Regions from separate parts of the Homo sapiens genome. Here region 2 is linked to region 1. Evidence: promoter capture Hi-C in human tissues and cell types (Jung and others, 2019). All regions are on one chromosome and are shown on one strand. Each heading gives the region's core, a stretch centred on a gene start or on the middle of the fragment in contact. The rest is flanking DNA. Distances are from core to core; before and after follow the strand shown. Region 1 holds the start of EPN3 (epsin 3). Region 2 holds the start of SGCA (sarcoglycan alpha).

What was found. The method cuts DNA at HindIII sites, captures the fragments that hold promoters and counts their contacts. A contact is called where the count stands out against the background at its distance.
Region 2: the fragment with the promoter of SGCA here is called in contact with the fragment with the promoter of EPN3 in region 1 in 1 of the 25 tissues and cell types used here (mesendoderm cells).

Annotation. Positions count from the first base shown.
Region 1 is chr17:50,528,176-50,535,364 of GRCh38, forward strand. EPN3 (epsin 3) reads left to right here and starts at 4,560. Exons shown (of 10, transcript NM_017957.3): 1 at 4,560-4,810. It overlaps MYCBPAP (MYCBP associated protein), which reads left to right. Exons shown (of 19, transcript NM_032133.6): 16 at 1-95; 17 at 520-665; 18 at 843-1,013; 19 at 3,152-3,326. The coding sequence ends at 3,253. RefSeq lists enhancers at 5,426-6,102, 6,103-6,779. The HindIII fragment of the contact is 9,890 bases long and covers 1-5,005 here.
Region 2 is chr17:50,160,392-50,167,291 of GRCh38, forward strand. It overlaps SGCA (sarcoglycan alpha), which reads left to right and starts at 5,614. Exons shown (of 10, transcript NM_000023.4): 1 at 5,614-5,686. The coding sequence starts at 5,650. It overlaps LOC105371818 (a long non-coding RNA gene), which reads right to left and starts at 5,966. Exons shown (of 4, transcript XR_934833.3): 1 at 5,627-5,966; 2 at 4,820-5,088; 3 at 630-757. RefSeq lists silencers at 992-1,071, 1,102-1,341 and enhancers at 1,097-1,391, 3,208-3,708. The HindIII fragment of the contact is 20,868 bases long and covers 1-6,900 here.

The sequences.
Region 1 (7,189 bases), core at 3,310-5,809:
GATTGACAGCCTGGTGGGCCATTCCATGTGGCTGAGGTCTGTGCTGGGCCTGCCTGAGAAGGAGACCATCTATTTGAATGTGCCTGAAGAGCAAGGTCAGATCTTGTGCAACCAACCACACCTCTGCATAGCCCTCCTCATCTCTCTGAATGGACAAGCAGCAGTGCCTGGGCCAGTCATACTCCTTTGGTGGAAGCTCTGCTAGGTTGAGCCCATGGAGTAGGCCCCTTACCCCTTTCTGTCCGCTGCCAGGATGTGGTACCCAGAAGCTACCTTAGTGACCACCTTGGTTTAGTAATCCCAGCAAAGTTAAATGACTTATCCATGGCCATTCATGGCATGGCAGAGCTGGGACCAGAACATAGGCACCACAGTCCTGTTTCATGAAGCCACGCGCCTACCAGGGCTCAAGGCTATTGCCCTTTGCTTTTCCACCTCCCCTCAAGCCTCCTCACGTACCTGCAGCATCCACTAGGCTGTTGGGGGCCTGCCATATTTTCTTCCACCCACCTCCCTTAGATCAAAAATCACCTCCTATCATGGAAGTGAAGGTACCTGTGGGGAAAGCTGGGAAGGAGGAGCGGAAAGGAGCAGCCCAGGAAAAGAAGCAACTGGGGATCAAAGACAAAGAAGACAAGAAAGGAGCCAAGCTGCTCGGGAAAGAGGCATGCTGGGGCGTGGTCTGGGCCAGGTGGGGCTGGGGAGGGGATTGGAGGGGCTGCGGAGGTGGGGGCTGTGGAGGTGGGCATGTGCCCAGGCTCTCCCAGTGAGCTACTGTTGAGGACATCCTTGGCCTACCTCTGGAGCTCCTGAAGGCTATGTGTGTCTCCCTCCCCCAGCAGGACCGTCCCAACAGCAAGAAGCACAAGGCAAAGGATGACAAGAAAGTCATAAAATCTGCAAGTCAGGACAGGTTTTCTTTGGAAGACCCTACCCCTGACATCATCCTCTCTTCTCAAGAACCCATAGACCCCCTGGTCATGGGGAAATACACCCAGAGCCTGCACAGTGAGGTGAAGGGAAGCGCCCAGCAGCCATTCCCCTGCCTCCCACCTGCCTTATTCATTCCGTTCAGTCTGCAGACAATAAGTGCCCACTCCATCATGGTGGAAGCAGAGCTGCTTCAGGAAGGGCATCCTCGTGTGTGAGACAGGCCTCATGAATAAGGAATGCGCCTAGCATGTTAGGTGATGAGTACGACGGGAGAGAAGATAGACCAGGCAGGGAATGGAGGCACAGAGGCCTCAGTGAGGAGGTGACAACCCACAAAGATTTGAAGGGAGGGGAAGGGTGGCCAAGTAGACGTCCAGTAAAGAGTGCTCCAGGCATGGGGAGCAACTGCCATAGGAGGGAGGGGCCAGAAGGGAGAGGGCAGTAGTGGGGAGCAGGTCATAGGGGTGGGGGATGGTTTGCAGGCTATTGTGAAGACTTGGGATTTTTCGGAGTGAAATGAGAAGTCACGCAAGGTTTTGAATAGAAACGCAATAGGGTCTGATAGGCTTTAGAAGGTGGCTCTGGCCGCCCTTTGGAGAACAGACTCTAGGGGAACAGAGAGGAAGGAAGCCCTTCTCTTTCTTACTCCCCGTTAGGTGCATCCTGGCAGATGCGTTCCTTGGGAGAACACCATGCAGGGTGCATTCCCATCAACTGTAAGAGTTTGAAGGACTAGAGAGACTTCATCCTAATCCGTTCTTAAGTAGCAGGTCCTTAGAAATTCACCCAGGTTTTCCGTTTTGTTTGTTAGTGTTGTTGTTTGTTTTGGAGGGGAGGTCCACAAAGCCATTTTCAATATGTCAGTATGTCTATTGGCGACGTCTTGCCTTCCTCTAATGTGGATAGCTGGGGAGCTGGGATTACATCATGTATTGTGGTCACACTCTGGATCTCATTTGATCAAAAGTTCCATTTGCCACTGGTGACATCACTAAGATATCAGATGGTTGATGGGGTCTAGAAAGTAATTAAAGGGCTCTGAGGACCCATGGGGGTCAACGTCAACCCTTCCATGGCTCTTTGATATTAAGAATCAACTTGCAGACCAGGTGCGGTGGCTCGTGCCTGTAATCCCAGCACTTTGGGAGGCCAAGGTGGGCAGATTGCCTGAGCTCAGGAGTTCAAGACCAGCCTGGGCAACATGGTAAGATCCCGTTTCTACTAAAAATTCAAAAAATTAGCCAGGCATGGTGACACTCACCTGTAGTCCCAGCTACTTGGGTGGCTGAGGCACAATAATCGCTTGAACCCGGGAAGTGGAGGTTGCAGTGAGCCGAGATCACGCCATTTCACTCCAGCTTGGGTGACAAGAGTGAGACTCTTACCTCCAAAAAAAAAGAATCAACTTGCTGGCCAGTGGCTCACACCTGTAATCCTAGCACGTTGGAAGGCTGAGGCAGGTGGATTGCTTGAGCCCAGGAGTTCGACATCAGCCTAGACAACACAGGGAGACCCCATCTCTGCAGAAAAAAAAAAGAATCAACTTGTCTGGGCTTGTATGATCCAACCCCATTGGAGGGGTCAGTCCCAGAGACCTTTCAGTCTGTGGATACAGGAAGGAAAATTGGCCTCCAGGAGGCCAGAGTAGAACTGGGGCTGAGCCCAGGCCCACCCCAAACGGCTAAATGGGCACCGCTCCATGGGCTCCCTGGAGTTGCCCCTTGAACAACTTAGCTCTAGTATCTCCATATGTCAAAGGTACCAGCGCAGGGCCACCTCCCCAGACTGGTTTGAAAAGTAAAACTGCAAAAGCAGGTGGATTGCTTGAGCCCAGGAGTTCGAGACTAGCCTGGGCAATGTGGTGAAACCCCATCTCTACAAAAAATAGAAAAAAGTAGCCAGGTCTGGTGGTGCACGCCTGTAGTCCCAGCTACTTGGGAGGCTGAGATGGGAGAATCACCTGAGCCAGGGAAGTCAAGGCTGCAGTGAGCCATGATCACACCACTGGACTCCAGCCTGGGTGACAGAGTGAGATCCTGTCAAAAAAAAAAAAAATCTGCAAAACCAAAAATTATTTCACAAGAACTTTGAACTTGTGAAATTCTTTCACAAACAACTGGTTTCTTTCCCCTCTCCAGCTATTCTCTCACAGCATAGTTCATATATAGGTGCTTCCCACAGAGTAAACTCTGCCTGTGATGTTGTCCCGTTCTTCCAGGTCCGTGGGCTGCTGGACACCCTGGTGACTGACCTGATGGTCCTGGCTGATGAGCTCAGCCCCATAAAGAATGTCGAGGAGGCTTTGCGCCTCTGCAGGTGACTCTCGGGCCCAAGCAACCTTCTGGAAAACGGGTTAATAAATAAATCAATAAAGAACCTTCAAGTTTCTACTACTTCCGTGTGCCTCTGTGTCTTGCATGATGGATCTTGGCTAGGTCAGCTCCTGATCCAGGTCCTCCCATGTTCCACCTGCCCTCAGATCCCCTCCTGCCAGCTGCCAGAGCCCTCCTGCAGGAGGACAGACAGACATAGCTGGGGAAGTGATGTGTGGGATGCCAAGCAGAGGAGCAGATTGGTAGCAAGACAAGGAGTCAGGTGACAGGACAGTGTGTCACCTCTGGTAGTCCCTGCCTCTGGCTTCCTTGGCCCACACTTTCAGGGTCGTGCTTCCTGGAGCCAGGTCTTCCCGAAGTGTCATCACCAAGTATGACAAAGTGTGAGATGAGGAGTAGAACTAGACCCATGGGACCTGGCTCCCTGCCATCTCCCCTCTTCAGCTGGGTCCCAGGGCCCCAATTCAGTCCCTGAAGATCATGCTCACCACACCTCTTCAGCTCTAGAGGCCACATCACCTTGTTATTTCGGGGTCTAGTCTGCCTTATCCCCCTCCTCATCTCAAACTATCTGGCCTTGAGCCATCTTTCTGCCTTAAAAACAGCTGCTGATCTTCATGCTACCTCCCTTGCTCAGGGGAACATGAAACAGGCTAGAAATGGCTCTCAGAAAAAAAGGTATTGTCAGCTCAAACTCAGGCCCCTCATTGTCTTCTGTCAGTCATAACCATTTGGGGCTGGGCTCCCTGTGTGAAGAGCACTCCAGGCTCCCAGAGTTTGAAGAACAACTTTGGTTTTTGGGTGGGTGGGCATCCTTAAGTGGGCCTCAGGCATCCTCCAGCTGAGATGCAGGAGGGGGAGGATGGACAGAAGGATCTGACTCCGTGTGGGAAAGGCAGGGAGGGGGCTGTGCTGGAGTCCTGATGCTCTCCTCCCCAAGAAGACGAGAAGACGGGGGCTCCACCAAAGAGCCAGCCCCAGGGAATGTCCCTGCCCTCTCCTTTAATGTCCTCCCGGCCCAGAGGAGGAAGGGGAGGGGTGTGGTGGGGGTGTTGGAGCCCCCCTCCTTTCCTGTTGAAGAGGCAGGGGAAGGGTTAACTCAAAGCAGAGGGGATCAGGTCGCCAGCACTGGCTCCAGATGTGCACTTCCTGGGGGCGGCCAACAGGCAGGCCCCCCACCTCTCAATGCACCACTTGCCTGGCCAGCAGGAAGGGGTTAACCTGCCCTGCACTTCCTCCTGTGTCCTGTTACTGCTGAGGCAGACCTGCCGGGCCAGCTGAGCAACTTTCCTCGGAGTGCTGCCTGGCGCTGGCTAGGAGGCAAACGCACGCGGGAAGAGCTGCTACCCATTCCAGGGACCCTGCCGCTGCCCCTCTGAGGGGTCTGCACCTCCTGGGAGCAGGTGGGTCTCTGGGACGAGGGTCCATGGTGGATGGCTCTGGAGACGCTCCCGAGGCTGTGCCGTCCCGCTGCTGCACAGGTCGGAGGGTCACCGCAGAGGCTACTCGGGCTGGGGCTGGGGCCGAGGGAGCCCGCACTGGAGGTAAGCTTCCTCCCTGGCCCCCTCCCTGGCAGTGGCGGCATGGAAGGCGGGGGTTGGTGGGGAGCAAACAGTGGTTCTGGGGCTTAGTCTCTTTTCCAGGTGCGAGGGAGAAGGCTGAGCTGTAGAGGACCTAAAGGCTTCTTTCCTGCCACCCCTCCCTCCCTGCCGCCCCCAAAAAGGGACTCAGGGCCCCCTCCCCAACCATCCTGGGACTTAGCATCTTTGGTGGCATCTTAGCATCTTTGGTGGCATTCCCCACAGACTCCTTCTGCACATCTCTGCTGTTTCCTCTTCTTCAGCCCCTCATGCACACCTCTAGCCTCAGGGCAGTCCCCCCTCCCCCATCTTCTGTGCTCCCGGGATGCAGCTATTACAGTGGCCAGAAGCTTAGAGTTCAAGCTCACCCCCTGTCCCTTACAGCATCAAGAAGGGCACTGTCATTCCCCACTGCTCAGGCTGGATCTGACTTGGAGGCAGGGGCTGGAGCCCACCTTAGCAGAGGACGGGAAGAGGGTGTGGGCTGGGCTGGTGGGTGCACAGACTTTACGCAAACTCATGCACGTGTGACTGGACAGATCTGGGTTCTCTCCATCTCTCCGAAACCCTTGCTGGGGATGAGCGATCTGCATTTTTCGGTCCTGACTTTTGGGAAACTCTCCAGATCCCCCCATCCTGCAGGCCCTGAGAAGAGCAGCCCCTCCCTACTGCGCAGTTCTCCTTGGGACCCTGTATGCAGGAGAGAGCTGATACTCCGTGCCCCGTGGCCCATCCCACCGCCTGCTGGCCCTGCTCCCATCCCCTCAGCTTCCTCCCTCCTCTGCCCTCTCGTCATCTCTGAATTCTCAGGCCCTGCCCTCTCTGTGCCCTTCCCTCCACCTGACAGGGTCTGGCTCAAGGTCACTGCAGTAATTCCATACCCAGCTGCCCAGGGCTGCTGCTGCTACCGCCACCGCCTTATCGGCCGCTGGGTTTCTGTTACACTCCCTTTTATTTCTGGGCATATCGTGTTCGATAAAACCCTTTGCTTGTAACACTGCTGGCAGCGCTCCCAGCTGCTCCCTCCCGCGTTCCCGCGTTCCTTCCTTTCCTCCTCCCTTCTCTGCGCTTGGGCAGGCTTCTTCCTTTCCTCCTCCCTTCTCTGCGCTTGGGCAGGCTTCTTCCTTTCCTCCTCCCTTCTCTGTGCTTGGGCAGCCTCACCTTGTCCCCTCAAACTCCAGAGAAGGAAAATCAAGGTGCCTCCCCATGTTTCTGGCCCCGCCCTTCCCCCCAGCCCCTGCAGGGGTGTGCAGAGAATGCCCACCTTCTGTGAGAAAGGTCCAGGCAGGGCCGCTGGGCCCACACCGAGAGTCCCCTCCCAGAGGCTGGTGCCCCCACACAGGCCAGGCCGGAGGGCCAGGGCAGCCAGGTCCAGGTAGGGCTCTGGTGCAGTCACAGTGCCCGACTGGTTCTGCTAGTTCCAGCGGCCAGCCGGTAGGGGCGTGTGCTGGGCGGGCTTTGGTGCACATTATTTCCCATCTTGACTCTGCCACCCCCAGCCACGGGTTGGGGAGGTGAAGGCAGGTCTGAGTCACTAGCAAGGGGGAGGGCAGGAGTTAAACAAGTTGTGGCCGTGGCATTCCCACAGAAGGCCCACGACCCGCTGGAAGGAAAGAGATAGCAGACAAAAGGTAGGCTGCGCTGTGGGCCAGGCACTCTCCACCTCGCCCACTCCCACGGTATCTTATTCTCTGGGCCCCCAACAAAACCTGCCAAGGCATGTTTTCAAAGCGTGGGGCTGCTTTGAACTGAGCCCAGCACTGGCGGGGCTGGGGTGGAAGGAGCGTGGAATCGGGTGCGAGAGGACAGTCTCCTTCAGATTCCTGCTTCTGGCAGCCTGGGGACCAGTTGGGGCACGGGCTGGGATGGAGGGTGGAGCCGAAAGGTGTTTGGTGGGTGGGGGACAGTTCACGGGTGAAGTGGAGGCTCTGCAGGCCCAGACAGTGTGTGTGTGCATGCACACACCAGTGCTAGTGTGGGAGGAATGGTGGTGGTCAGGGAATTCCTCTTTTGGTTTCTGAAAGGGCCTTTGGGAGGACCTTGGGCCTGGAGTTGTATTCAGCAGATAGCCTGGACCTGTGGCTACTGGGGGGAATTGGGCTGGCCCAGCTCTTCTCCCTGCTGGGGTACCAGAGGTCCACTATGTGTCCAGCGTTTTGGGGCTTTGGAGAACCCAGACTGTTCCTACTCTCAGGGAGCTTCCATTCTAGCTGAGAAGGTGGGACTGAGACAGTAAAGCAATCCGATGAAATAATGACCAAACTGGGTAACACTGACAATAAGAATTGGATTAGTCTTCTGGAGTCCTGGATGGTAGTCCAGGCTCTGCCACTTACGTGCCAT
Region 2 (6,900 bases), core at 4,364-6,863, 370 kb before region 1:
GTTGACATTTGTCCAGCATGACTTCACTTAATCACTCTAATAATATGCCCGTAGAATCTCTTGATTTTCCATATAAATAATCATGCTGTCTACAGATGTCAGAGACTTTTGCCTCTTATTTTCCTAACCCTTCTTTTTTAAATTTTTTTTTTTGAGACGGAGTCTCGCTCTGTCACCCAGGCTGGAGTGCAATGGCGTGATCTCAACTCACTGCAACCTCTGCCTCCCGGGTTCAAGAGATTCTCCTGCCTCAGCCTCCTGATTAGCTGGGATTACAGGTGCCCACCACGACGCCCAGCTAATTATTTTTAGTAGAGATGGGGTTTCACCATGTTGGCCAGGCTGGTCTGGAACTCCTGATCTCGTGATCTACCCACCTCGGCCTCCCAAAGTGCTGGGATTACAGGTGTGAGCCCCCGTGCCTGGTCTTATTTTCCTAATCCTTCTATCAGTGAATGGTGGCTTCTAAATCTGACCTTTTCCAGCTCTTGGGCTGTGCCTGTGGGCTGGCCCTGGGCAGCTATTACCTTGCACTGTCAGTTATAAATAAATAAAACACCCTTACTTTCTCCAGAGCTTTACAGTTTGCAAAGCGCTTTCGCTTCCATTATCTCATTGATCCTTCTTACCCCCACTTGATGGAATGGGAGTGTCTGGGTGGAAACGGTCCAGGGCTCCGTGTCCAGAGATCCAGCTGTGCAGCCATAGTGCCGAGGCACCTCGGACAGTCCCTCCTCTTCTCTCTTACTCCTGTAATCTAACGTTTGGCCGGGAATGGTCCCTGGCATTCCAACTCATGTGTGATGGATTTGGGCGGTCAGAGGCTCACGGAACGCTTTGAGGGCTGAAATCCACCGATAAAAAGGCGGGGGATTCTGGGTACATTTAGGTCTCCAGGCTGGTATCCCAAAATGTCTGGGGGGATATGGAAATGTCCTTGGAAGTCGGAGGCTTGATACAGATGGTGGGATGGGTGGAGGTGGGATGGGGAAGAGATCATTATGTCCAGCCCCCTGCCTCCGTGCGGCTTCTCCTCCCCCTGTAGATTAGAGCGTTTTCTGGGTCGGGAAGGGGAGGACGAGATGGAGCTCGTGGCCTTGGGTTCCCTCCTGCGTCGCCCCCTGTAACTGCGTCCCCCAGCACGCACTGCTGACGCGCATCCCCAGCCCGGGGCGGCGCGCTCCGCAGGCATCCCGCCCCCGACTCCCGCTCCGTCCCAACATCGCGCAGGCGCAAGACCGGGCTGGCGCCAGCGAACGCGCCCTCTCGTGGCGGACTGGCCAGGTCGCAGTCTTTGTTGTTGCGCTGGAGGCGGCGTACGGGACAGGGGAGAAAGATGTGGGTGGAGTCTGGGAGGCAGATGCGAGAATCAGATCACAATGACGAGAAGCCCTTTCCTTTGTCCCTCACGGCAACGTATAGATGCAGATAAAGAAAACACGGCCTCAGACCTCAAGAGACTTAGAGACAGGTGCACAGAAACTGAAGCTGAATGAGACACACTGGACAGCAGTCATTCGTTCATTCAGCAAACATTCACTGGGATGGGGAGATACAGGGACAAAGGACCAGAGGGCTTACATTTAGGCACTGGTGGGCAGAGACGGGGCAGAAAGCTGGAGAGACGGATGCGGATGTCAAAAAGGCCAGGACAGAGAAGCGACTAGCTCAGGACAGGGCTGGGCCGCAGGAGTGAGGCGGAGGCCGGGGAAGTACCGGCGGAGCCTAGGGCACGGCAAGGGCACCAGCTGTGCGAGGTGGGGTACGAGCCCCGACCCCTCCAGCTCTCCTGACCGACGCCCCAACTGGGGATGACAAAACGGAGAGCTAAAGATAGGCAATGTGAGCACCAGAAGGGACCCTAGTTGCAATGGACTGAAGCAGTCAGATAGGTGTAAACCATGTATCATCATTCTACTACTACCAAAGAAGCTCGGACTGGCCAGAGTTTGGAGGATGCTAGGGAAACAGCTCTTTATTCAGAAACTGTTTAATACAGGAAGAGTCCAGCGTTTCTCCCGTCTTCCTTTTACGAACTTTCCCACTCAGTAACCAAATCGCAAGGGGCAGTTTCTGTCTATAATTATTCCAGCTAATAAAGGAAGGGGTGATCAGAGTGATCAAATCTGAATATCACTATTCTGCACACACACAAAAAATAAAACGCTAATGGCGGAGGCAAGACACTACTAAGACCACAGAAACGCATGATGTGCCTTCAAATGGAAGAACACTGTCACCACCTATGAAGTGGTCTCAACGAAGGAAATTGAACATAAACCTTATAAGGCCTCTAGATCCAACTACAAATTACAGTAACAATGTACAGGAAATACAACGTACAGGAAGTATGGAGGTGGGAGGAACATGTTAAAGATCACCATAGAGATGCAATCAGCAAAATCCAGAGGGCAAAAAACTACAGAAGAAATTTTCTGGCTCCTTCAAGGAACGAGAAAGAGAAGGGAGGGAGGGAAGGAAGGAAGGAAGGAAGGAAGGAGAGGGAGGGAGGGAAGGAAGGAAGAAAGGAGGGAGGGAGGGAGGGAAGGAAGGAAGAAAGGAGGGAGGGAGGGAGAGAAGGAAGAAGAAGGAGGGAGGGAGGGAGAGAAGGAAGAAGAAGGAGGGAGGGAGGGAAGGAAGGAAGGAGGGAGGAAAGGAAGGAAAGTATGAAGGAAGGAAGGAAGGAAGGGAGGAAGGAAAAAAGAGAGAGAAAGGATGTATGGGAACCTATAGATTTGAAGAAATTTAAAAGAGCCTTGGCCAGGCACAGTGGCTCACGCCCGTAATCTCAGCACTTTGTGAGGCCAAGGTGGGTGGATCACTTGAGGTCAGGAGTTTGAGACCAGCCTGGCCAACATGGTGAAACCCCTGGGCATGGTGGCACGTGCCTGTAGGCTGAGGCAGGAGAATTGCTTGAATCTGGGAGGTGGAGGTGGCAGTGAGCCGAGATCATGGCACTGCACTCCAACCCGGGTGACAGAGCGAGACTCTGTCTCAAAAAAAAAAAAAAAAAAAGCCCTATAAATCATCAATCAGTTGCAATGTGTGTATCTTCTTTGTATCTTGAGTCAAACAAATACACTGTAAAAATATGTATGTTTATGAGAAATTGGTAATTTGAACACTAGAAGTTTGATATTAAGGAATTTTATTGATGATGTTAATAGCTGAACGTGTTATGTGATTATGTTAAAAAGAGTCATTATCATTTAAAGATACACACTGAAATATTGATGGATGAAATTAATCAGGAGGGGTACAGATGAAACTAGACTGGCCATGAGTTGATAATTGTTGAAGCCAGGTGACAGATACACGGGGGCTTATTATAGTATGCTGCAAATTTTTCAAACTAAGAAGTTTAAAGACCCTGTGACCTCCCTTCCCACCCCTAGGCCCAATAGACAGAAGGTGCTGTGTGTTACAAGCAGCAGGTTGCAATCCAGACAGCTCTGAGTGGGAAGGTCCTCTGATGGCTGAGGGGCCTGAGAAGGGTTTCTGGGGACTTTCTGGCTTGTGGGACAGTCCCTGGCTCCCTTGAATTGGGCAGGGAGGATCTGATGGGGAAGTAGCTGCAGCTTTTCATTAAGGAAGGCTGGCCTCTGTGGGCCTGGTGACACTGGGGCCAGGCACTGCTACCTTAAGACAGCTGAGTGGGTGGCTCCAAAAATAGCCAGGGGGACGGCAGGGGGCGGGGAGTCACATGGAGAAGCTCAGGGGTGAGGCTGGGCAGGTGCCCAGGGGGTTGGCACTTCTGCCTGCTCCCCCAGAACCCTTGGGCTCTTCCTCTGCCTCCAGAACCTTTCTTCCTCCCTCCCTCTGTCTCTGAGAAGACAGAGAGATGGCCAGGTGATGCTGGGACAAATACTGCCTTGCCTGAGGGGACGCTGACTCTGGAATTTGGTGGCTCTCCAGGGATGAGCGGGTCAGTCAGGTGGAGAGAGAGAGAGGAAGGGACAAGGACTGCGTAACCTGCCTACCAGTCACCCCATCTGCAGGCCAACACCTGTGCCCTTAGGCTGGACCCAAGTGATCCTTGCCTGGGGTATTTTGTTGTCCTTTTGAGGCCCTGGAGGAGAGGTCACACAGGCACCAAGGATTTGGGAACCCTGGCAGCCATAGGTCCCCGCCCCCTTCTCAGGGCACCTGGGGAGAGTGCCCCTGTGCCTGCCCTAAGTGAGAGACCTGGGGAGAGGACACCGCGCCCCATCGCCCCTGGACTGAGATCCTTTGGCAGAGGCAAGAAGGAAGGGGAAGCAGGGCCGGGCAAGTACATCAGCAGCACAGTCATCGACTGAGCCAGGCACTGGGCTAAGCCGTCCACATGCATTCTACTCATCAGCAATGTGGCCTTGGGGAAGGTATACACCCCTGTGCCTCAGTTTTATCATCTGTTAAATGGGCACAGTAATAATACCTGCCTCATGGAACTGCTGAGGAGATGGAATGAGGTAATATAGGTAGATATATGTAAGATTCTCAGCACAGTAGCTGGCAGCGCTAGCTGGTATTACCCACTGGCAGGTGACCTCCATGTGGGCAGAGGTTTGCTTATCTTTGCAATTTCAATGTCTGATACATAGCAGGTGTTTCATAAATATGCGCTGCATTCATTACTTTGTGGAGTCCTCACAATGATGCCAAGAGGCAAGCACTATTCTTGCCAGTTTATAGTTGTGGAAATGGGCTAGAGGGCAAATGGTGCACTCAAGGCCTCATCCCCAGCAAGTGGCCAAGGTGGCCCACCTCCAGGCCTCCAAGTCTATGCGCCGAATGAACCCTGACTCCATGGGCCAGAGAGGGTGCCTCCTCCGCTCACCTGTCTCTAGCTGGCTGGTCCTGTCCAGGGCTTGCTAGACCTCCACGCTGAAGTGCTTGGACTGGGGATAAAGGCTGGGTGGATGGCACCTACGTTTGCTGTTAAGGAAGCTGCCGCCAGCCAGCTACACCTACTAGTTACCAGGCCCTGTGCCAGGCCCAAGGATACAAACGTGACAAGATCCTAGTCTTCGAGGAGCTTGGAGCAGTCTGTGTGATTGTGTTGTGCCCAGGAAAGCACGCAGGGGCTAAGGGGACACCCAGCTTGGCCTAGCAGAAGAAGGGAGGTCAGAAAGGCTTCAGAGAGGAGAGGACATCTGTGCAGAGTCTGGAAAGGTGACTGGAAGGTTGCTGCTTGAATGAAGGTGGGAAGGGAACTGCAGGCAGAGGCAATAGCCTGGACGACGGCTTGGAGACTTGAGAGAGTCTGCCAAGCTAGGCAGGAGCGGAGTGAGGCTGAGCAGGGGCCTGGGGTTGGAAGGGTAGGGGCAGAGGATGGGATTCTAGACCAGCTGACCAGGTTCAGGACAGGCCAGAAAGCCACCAACTGGGGATGAGCTGGGAACTCAGGGGCCATGAGAACCATTAGAGTTTTAAGGGAGGATGGAGGTGGCCTGGTTGGTGGTTTAAAAAACACTGTGGCCACTGGAGGGGACGGTTGGAGGGACAATGAGTGCGAGGAGGGTGTCTATCCCAGATTTGGTGCATGCTCCAGGCGGGGAGGGGAGGCTGACGCTGGGACCCAGCTGCCCCGAGCCACCTCCCTCCTTCCCTCCTCTCCTCCCTGCCCCCTGTCTCTGTCACTCACCGGGCGGGCCAGGCCGGGCAGCCATGGCTGAGACACTCTTCTGGACTCCTCTCCTCGTGGGCAAGTTGGGGCCTTGTTCAGCGGGGAGGCCCAGGATGAGGGGGCAGGATTTAGGGGTGGTAAGACGGAGGTGTGGAGGGCCCACAGAAGAGGGATCTGGGTTGGGTGAGGCAGGCGCCAGAAGGGCTTTGGGGTGTTAATGCCATGGCCAGCTGGGGATCCAGGGAATGGGGCTGGGAGCTGGGCTCTGGGATGAAGGGGCTGGGAGCTCTGAGGGCTGGAGGTGTCCTAGGGCCCGGGTGGGTCTGACAGCACAGGCCCAAAGGGTCGTGGGCCCTTTAATGAGCTGGCTGGGCCGCAGCTTCTAAGCCCAGGCTAAATTTGGCCCTGGGAGGGAGGGTGGAGCTGGCGGCCAGGTCCTCTGCTCCTCTCTTGGACTTAGGATTCCTTTTGCTCAGCTCCTACTGGCCTCTAGGGCAGGCCTTCTTCTTCCCTGTATTTTAGGGGAGGAAGGTGGGGGTCTCCAGGCCCAGAATGGCTACCCTTCCTCCTCTGTAGGCTCCTGGCCCCGTCTTCCTCTCCTCTGGGCTCTTGGGCATTTAGCATGGGATTCTTTTCCCAGTGCCTTTCACACATACACACCCTCACACACACACACACCCACACACACCCTCACACACACCCTCACGGCACCCTCACACACACACCCTCACACACACCCTCACACACCCTCACACACCCTCACACACACACCCTCACACACCCTCACACACCCTCACACACACACCCTCACACACACCGTCACACACACACCCCACACACCGTCACACACACCCCCCACACACACCCCCACATACCCCCACATACCCCCACACACCCCCCGCAAACACACACCCCCCACACACACCTTCACACACACACACCCTCACACACACCCTCTCACACACACTCACTTGCACACACACCCTCACACACATCCTCACAGACCCTCACACATACCTTCACACACACACCCCCCCACATCCCCTCACACACACACACACCCTCACACACACACTTCCCAGTCAAACATCAGTCCCTGCCCACTGCACCATTAATAGGGGCCTAAAACAAGGAATGGAAAGGTTGTGGGAGAGGTTCTCCCTCGAATCCCGAAACCCAGACGATTAAAATGTCTAGCCCAGCAGGGCTTGCTCCCCCATCCCCACCCCAATCCCTTCCTGGGAGGCAGCAAAGGAAGCGCTTCTCTCGGTCCCTTAGGGGCTCCAAGGACT